2 separate regions of the Homo sapiens genome follow, and region 1 is linked to region 2. The links are contacts of gene promoters, found by promoter capture Hi-C in blood cells and fetal thymus (Javierre and others, 2016). All regions are on one chromosome and are shown on one strand. Each heading gives the region's core, a stretch centred on a gene start or on the middle of the fragment in contact. The rest is flanking DNA. Distances are from core to core; before and after follow the strand shown.

The links. The method cuts DNA at HindIII sites, captures the fragments that hold promoters and counts their contacts. A CHiCAGO score of 5 or more calls a contact.
Region 1: a contact is called between a fragment that was not itself captured here and the fragment with the promoter of TNFSF18 in region 2, in 1 of 17 cell types (endothelial precursors). The highest score is 5.7, in endothelial precursors.

The regions. Positions count from the first base shown.
Region 1 is chr1:173,171,589-173,175,609 of GRCh38, reverse strand. It overlaps a transcript of TNFSF4 not described here. Among named protein-coding and RNA genes, the nearest start is that of TNFSF4, 34 kb to the left of the region's middle. The HindIII fragment of the contact is 3,011 bases long and covers 25-3,035 here.
Region 2 is chr1:173,049,085-173,052,911 of GRCh38, reverse strand. It overlaps TNFSF18 (TNF superfamily member 18), which reads left to right and starts at 1,971. Exons shown (of 3, transcript NM_005092.4): 1 at 1,971-2,171. The coding sequence starts at 2,016. The HindIII fragment of the contact is 4,458 bases long and covers 1-3,827 here.

The DNA of each region.
Region 1 (4,021 bases), core at 281-2,780, 120 kb before region 2:
GCTATAACTTTCTAAACAAAAGCTTCCTTTTCAGGGGGCCTGATAGCATCAGGGAAGGAATGAGGGAGTACAAGTGAGGAGAAAGCAAAAATAAAGTAGGCATAGAGAAAAAAATCAAGGAATGGATAATATAAGAGCCTTTCAAGAATGTAGATTTACACTAGAGATTTATTAAATTTGAGGGCCTATAACAAAATTAATTTATTTAAACAAATATTTGTTAAAAATTCTTTTATAAAGTACCTGCCACTGTGTTAGGTGTTCTGGGGAATCTGAGAGAAATAGAAAGACACTAGAATAATATGGTTGGTCTAAAGCACTCAAGATTTAGAATCAATGGAGGCTTGTGTTCAAGTTGAGATTTTACCACCACTTATCAGCTGTATCCTCTGGTTTTACTTAATTGTAGGTCTACTGATCACTGCCTTCCCTGCTCTGCCATCATACAAATTATCTCATAGGATTGTTTTGAGGATTAAACAAAACACCAACCACGGGTCACAGATTATGACATTTTCAAGGTATTTAATAATTTTTAATTACCACTTGTAGAAACCACAGTCCCTGCCCGATAGGATCTTACTTCACAGAAAACAAAGACGTAAGAGACTCTAAAAGGAGTAAAGAAAGATGAAAGTCTGTAGGTTTACAAGATAGATGATTAAGATAAGTGGTATTTTTTACATTATTACCAAGTGGGACAGACTGTATAATCTGTATGAGGTGCTAGCCCTGTAGCTTTTTGTTTCATTATTGAAAATTCTATAGAAGTGACATTGGCCATATGGCAGTGTATGAGATACCAGCTTTCATTCCCCCACAGAAAACAATGAGACAGCAATTGATATGGTTTGGCTCTGTGTCCCCACCCAAATCTCATCTTGTAGTCTGGGGTGGGATCTCGTGGGAAGTGATTAGATCATGGGGGTGGTTCTCCCATGCTGTTCTGATACTGAGTGAGTTCTCATGAGATCTGAGGTTTCATAAAGAACTTTTCCCCCTTCATTCTGCACTTCTTGCTGCTGCCATGTGAAGAAGGACACGTTTGCTTCCCCTGCCACCATTGTAAGTTTCCCAATGCCTCCCCAGCCCTGCAGAACTGTGAGCCAGTTAAACCTCTTTCCTCTATAAATTACCTAGTCTCGGGCAGTTCTTTATAGCAGCATGAGAATGGACTAATACAGTAAACTGGTACCACAGAGAGTGGGGTGCTACTGTAAAGATACATGAAAATGTGGAAGTTACTTTGGAACTGGGTAACAGGTAGAGGTTGGAACAGTTTGGAGGGCTCAGAAGACAGGAAAATGTGGAAAAGTTTGGAATTTCCTAGAGACTTGTTGAATGGCTTTGATCAAAATGCGGATAGTGATATGGAAAATAAAGTCCCGACTGAGGTGGTCTCAGATGGAGATGAGGAACTCATTGGGACCTGGAGTAAAGGTCACTCTTGCTATGCAAAGAGACTGGCAGCATTTTGGCCTTGCTCTAGAGATCTGTGGAACTTTGAACTTGAGAGAGGTGATTTAGAGTATCTGGCAGAGGAAATTTCTAAGCTGCAAAGCATTCAAGAGGAAGCAGAGCATAAAAGTTTGAAAAATTTGCAGCCGGACAATGTGACAGAAAGGAAAACCCATTTTCTGGGGAGAAATTCAAGCTGGCTGCAGGAATTTGCTTAAGTAATGAGGAACCAAGTATTAATCACCAAGACAATGGAGAAAATGTCTCCAGGGCATGTCGGAGACCTTCGTGGCAGCCCCTCCCATCACAGGCTCTGAGGCCTGGAAAGGAAGGATGGTTTTCTGGGCACAGCCCAGGGCCCCCCTGCTCTATGCAACCTCGGGACATGGTGCCCTGTGTCCCAGCTGCTTCAACTCCAGCCATGGCCAAACAGGGCCAATGTACAGCTCACGCCCTTGCTTCAGACGGTGCAAGCCCCAAGCCTTGGCAGCTTACATATGGTGTTGGGCCTGCGAGTGTACAGAAGTCAAGAATTAAGGTTTGGGTACCTCTGCCTAGATTTCAGAGGATGTATGGAAATGCTTGGATGTTCAGGCAGAAGTTTGCTGCAGGGGTGGAGCCCTCATGGACAACCTTTGTTGTTTGCCCTATTAATAATTAATAATTTGCCCTATTACAAGGAGACTGTAGCCCCTTTGTTTTGGTCAATTTCTCCCATTTGGAATGGGTGCATTTATCCAGTGCCTGTACTCCCATTATATCTTGGAAGTAACTAACTTTCTTTTGATTTTACAGGTTCGTTGGCAAAAGGGACTTGCCTTGTCTCAGACGAGACTATGGATTTTGACCTTTGGATGAATGCTGAAATGAGTTAAGACTTTGGGGAACTGTTGGGAAGGCATAATTGTGTTTTGAAATGTGAGAAACAGGAGATTTGGGAGGGACCAGGGGTAGAATGATATAGTCTGGCTCTGTGTCCTCACCCAAATCTCATCTTGAATTGTAATACAAATTATAATCCCTACATGTTGGGGAGAGACCTCATGGGAGGTGATTAGATCATGGGGGTAGTTCCCCCAAGCTGTTCTCATGATAGTGAGGGAGTAGTCATGAGATCTGATGGTTTTATAGGGGATTTTTCCTCCTTCACTCTGCACTTCTTGCTGCTGCCTTGTGAAGAAGGACATGTTTGCTTCCCCTGCCGTCATGATTGTAAATTTCCTGAGGCCTTCCCAGCCCTGCAGAACTGTGAGTCAATTAAATCTCTTTCCTTTATAAATTACCCAGTCTTGGGCAGTTCTTTATAGCAACATGAGAATGGACTAATACATCAATCCACAAAGGAAAATAGTTTTGAGAGGGCTCAAGGGTCTAATTAAGAACGTGCAGCAACACAGTGGTGCAAAAAATAGATAATAATAACACATAATGATTGTTGGGGATATCAGCATACCTGAGATGTGTAGAGATGACTAGAAACAGGAACATAGAGCAGGGGATATCAGCTTGAGTCACAGTTACACAGTGGGTTCCACTGTGGTCCCCAGTGGCATGCTCTGCAGAGGGCACTGGAAGCTTTTGCCATTGAGGTAACTAATAGCAATCAACACTGTGAACTCCCTGGAGAGGGAGATAATGCTATGTCACCCCTAAAAGAAGCCACTGTTGTGCAGCTCTGGGACTGAGGCAACCCTTTCTCTGATTTCCTGTGAACTCCCTGCCCCAGATTTATGGCTGCATTAACCATGCTTGCACCCCAGACACCAGAACCACCATCACAATGAGCTAGCCTGCACCCTGGTCAGTGGAGCCACTGTTCCAAGCATACTTATGTTTCAGACCCAGGGTCTGTGGCCACTCTAATACTGGAGCTACCACTGCAGCAGTCATGTCAGCAACCTGCTCCCTGGAGCAGTGGTAACCCTACACATGCCTGTACACCAGACCCAGGCTCCACAGCTACTTCATGAATGCCTGCACCTCACACATCATTACCGATACAGCAGCAAGAGCTCCTGCACCCCAGGCACTGATGCCGCTGCTGCCTCTGACCCCAAAGCCATGGTCCTTCCATGCAATATTGTGCTCCAGACCCTAGCTTCATGGTCACTCCATGGGTGCCATGCATCAGACACCAGTGACGCATCACCACAAATGCACCCAACCATTGGACTTGGTGCTAAGAGGGATCCCCTCAGCCTTGACTTTTTCAGTGAAAGAAATATAAATCAGGAGAATTTTAGCAGTCCTAGTCACCAGTGTAGACACCCACAGCCATGGCCACAGAGGACCCCTGTATTCTTCACCAATGTCAACCTCAGCTGACAGAGCTGCTTGGAGACTACATCACTGTGTACTCATCACAGCCAGAATCCCCCCATTTCATCCAGCCAGTGCATTTTCACACACCTGTAGATGAAGGTCTTTCTCTATTGAAAACAGTCTGTGAAGTCTAGAAGAGGTGACTGCTCTATCAAATGCACAGACGTTAATGCAAGGTAACAAGAAACATTAAAAAAAAAGTCAGTCCCCAAGGTACACAGCAATTTTCCAGAAACCATTT
Region 2 (3,827 bases), core at 722-3,221:
GTCTTCTTGAAATAAGTATGTCATCTTTCTTAAGATACTGTCATAAGGTTAAATAATTAATAAGGATATTCCAGGGCCTAACAGTGGTTAAAGGCGGAAGGAGGAACTGGATTTTATTTAAAACAGTTTCTCATGTGAATAAATGTTTACCTAAGGTAGCAAGCCAGGGAAATTCCCTCAAAAATTTGGAAAGCAGACAGGAAAAGGGGCAGATCATAAAAACAGGAAGGACATAATTTAACTTCCAATTTTAAGTTCTGTGCTTGTGTATATGAATTCCAGATCTGATGCAAGTGCAAAGGTTATGGGATCAAGGCATCAGTCTTTTTCTAGAGTAAGTTTATTCTTTATCCCTGCATTGCAGCATCTAAGTACAGAGCCACAAAAACATTTGTTGTGTTGAAAAATCATTTTTGTGTAACTGGTCTTTTAAGAAGTAGTTTATTGAACAAGGTAAAATAGGGCCCAAATTAAAATTTTGACAGTTCAGAGAGAAATATTGCTAATAATATTGTAAATAGTGCAATATTAAGACAAAATGGTTGGATTACAAAGCAGTATCTGTGGGCTTGAGTTTTCACTCCATCATTAACCAGCCAGCAGTGATTTGAGACACTACTCACACCCTCTTGTCCTTAGTTTCCTTTTTTTGTAAAGGAGGATGTTAAATCTCTGGACTTTTTTCTAATTTATAAATCGTCAATTCTCTCTTAGATTAAAAAATAGGTTTTCCAAAATACTTTCATTGTACTTCCTTTTGTTTAAGTAAACTTTAGGTGAATTTTATCTTGTGGGAAAGATAAAGAATGTTCATTCTTTTCTAGGATTTAATAATTGAATTAAACTTCACTACATCGCTAAAGAGGGTAGAGAAGAGATAATCTAACATTTATGGAATGCATAAACTTTTCACCTTCATTTCATTCTCCACAAAAGCATTATAAAGTGAAAATTTTCTCCATTTTACAGTGAAGGAAACTGAAGCTCAGAGAACTCAAGTAACATGCCTAAGGCCACAGAGCAGGTAGGAACTGGGCAGTGCCAGCCTCTGCTCTTGAGGTCTGTCTGATTTAAAAGCCTGTGTGACTGAGGTCCATAGAACCAGGAGACTTCCTCAATTTTGTAGTAAACCCATATTTTTGGGCCCAGGAAGAAAACCCAAGGTTTTTTTTTTTTTTTTTTTGGAATAGAGTATAAGCTCTGGCTGAGGGCAGGATGCAGGAAAATATCCTTCTGTAAAATAACTTCTTATGCCAGAACTAGATTATCAGAGTTTAAAAATGATGAAATATAAAATTGAGCTTGTTGTATTTACAATTTTTTATTAAATTCTTGTAATACACTTGATATTTTCTAGAGACTCAGAATGAACGCATTCTATACACTAGAAATTGATGAAACATTTTTGTGAGTATAGATTTTATTTTTCCAGGTTTACTGAAGTATAATTGACAAATAAAAATTGTGGGTATTTAAGGTAAACAAGATGATGACTTGATTAAAACTCTATTTTTTCCAAACTAGAGATCCTAGCCTCTCCAACTTCCTAACACTCTGCCGCTCATGTACATGATATCTGGAGTATGGTAGGGGGATTAATCTCAAACTTTATTTTTTCTTATAAAAAGTGATTTTCTTATCTAGAAATAATCTGGAATACTTTCTTAGATGAGAGCACACCACTTTATTCTCCCAAGCCTCCTCTACACGTGCACTGTACTGCCGTTTGATTTAGGAAAGAAATTTTTTTCCCCTCTGAACTTCCCTTGTGCTTTTTTTTTTATGTTCTGAGTTTGTGTTGGCTTTCAGCCTTCCGTTCCTTTTGTTGTATTTGATCTGGTGCCAAATGAGAGTCAGCACTTAAGTTATAAGTATCATTTTCTAACACAGTGACAGAAGGAAAACTCCGCCTTCCACACCCACTACTAATTACCATATTGCTACAAAACATGACATTGCATCCTTCACCCATCACTTGTGAATTTTTGTTTTCCACAGCTCTCATTTCTCCAAAAATGTGTTTGAGCCACTTGGAAAATATGCCTTTAAGCCATTCAAGAACTCAAGGAGCTCAGAGATCATCCTGGAAGCTGTGGCTCTTTTGCTCAATAGTTATGTTGCTATTTCTTTGCTCCTTCAGTTGGCTAATCTTTATTTTTCTCCAATTAGAGGTAAGGAGGCAATTGTACCTAAGGTTACTATTTGCTATAATCCTCTATTTATTTGTTTTTCTAGTTGTTATCATTGTCACTCAGTATTGTTAGCAATAGTTGGAAGGAAGAGATGTGTATACATAATGTAAATACAATTCTAATATTGTCATGACATGGCGTTTGAAGTTTATCTAAAGGTTTTGAGATAAAAGGTATCAGAAAATGCTAAATGTTAGCTGCAGAACTCTGTTAGATAGAGAGAACTGGTTAAGCCAATTGACAGGGGCCTGTGGAGTATTTTTCCTTCCCTCTGCTATAGCTCTTGGTGGAATAAAAAAGGTAAAAATATGAATGAATATCAAGGAATGGGATGCAAGCTATAGTCTTATTTATGGAAAAGACTTAAAAAAATAGTGAAAGACAGGATTAAGTAAATGACAGGTGGTTTGTGTGTCTTTGAGGAGGGAAGTGGCCCTGAGCTAGGTGTAAGAAGATCTGGATTCTGGTTCTGGGTCTCCTAATAACCAGCTGTATAAATTTGATAAAGACATTTAATCTCTCTAGTTTGCAGCTTCTTTATCTAAAAAAACTGGTGGTAGGGGAATGGATTTATTATGATGTTTCTTCTAGCTATAAAATGTCATGATCAAGAATTTATTTAAGGGTAGTATGAAGAATAAATGCCTAAGTCACTCAAAAGCAGGGAACAATGACTTTAGATTGAGTTGATCAGGGAAGACTTCATGGAGGAATGAGAAAGCCCATATCTATTTGGGAAGCCCCTGATGCTTGTCAGGAATTTCCCATTGAGATGCAGGCCAAGCTGTGGGCCTAGAGAATGGGATGGTACACTGGGAATGGAGATTAGTTTTGTTCTTTACTAAAAAATCTTTCCTCACAGTTAACTACGTAGCACTGATCAAAAAGAAAATAAGAAATGCTTTATTTATTTCAGGATTTAGCCTATTTCTGGCTAAATTTGAAGACTCTAAGTTTTGGGGAGAATAAAGTGGCATATGTCCATCTGAGAAAGAGTTGAAATGTGACTGCAGAAACACTTTTCTTAAGGGAACTGACCAGCAAAGATTTCAAAGATATAGTTCTACCACTTAAGATAAGTAAAAGTAATTGAGAAAAGATGCAGGAGGAAGCAGTCCCCTATTGATATTAATTTAGAGTAGGTATAGCTTTGGCCAATTTTTCCACAGTAGCCCATTAATTTGTATTCCATAACTGTATACAAGGCTTATGTGCAACAGAGGCATTTCTAATTACAACCCTGCTCTCTCAAGAAATGTATGAAGCAGAAGTGTGAACTTTCTGGGTCAGTGAAGTTGAAAGAAAGAATTGTCAGAAATTCTTAGTGTCTAGATTTCTGAAGAAGAGGAAGGGTGAGAATAGCAATAACTTAAATTTGGAAGTGCTTCTTTCTTCTAAAAATTATAAGATTAATTAGCCAGATAACCCTGAAGAACACTGAATATAAGCATCATCAGTTCCTACATATGACTCAGGAATGAATACACAGAAGCCTTTCCCAAAGGCACCCAGCAGTTCTTGCAAAGGGAAAGAGAAAGTCTAATAATGCCAGATCATCTGGGACACCTCTCTTCAGAATCAAACTGGATTAATCCCATGTGTTTGAGCTCTGATTCTGGTTTCTCTCTCCTAGAT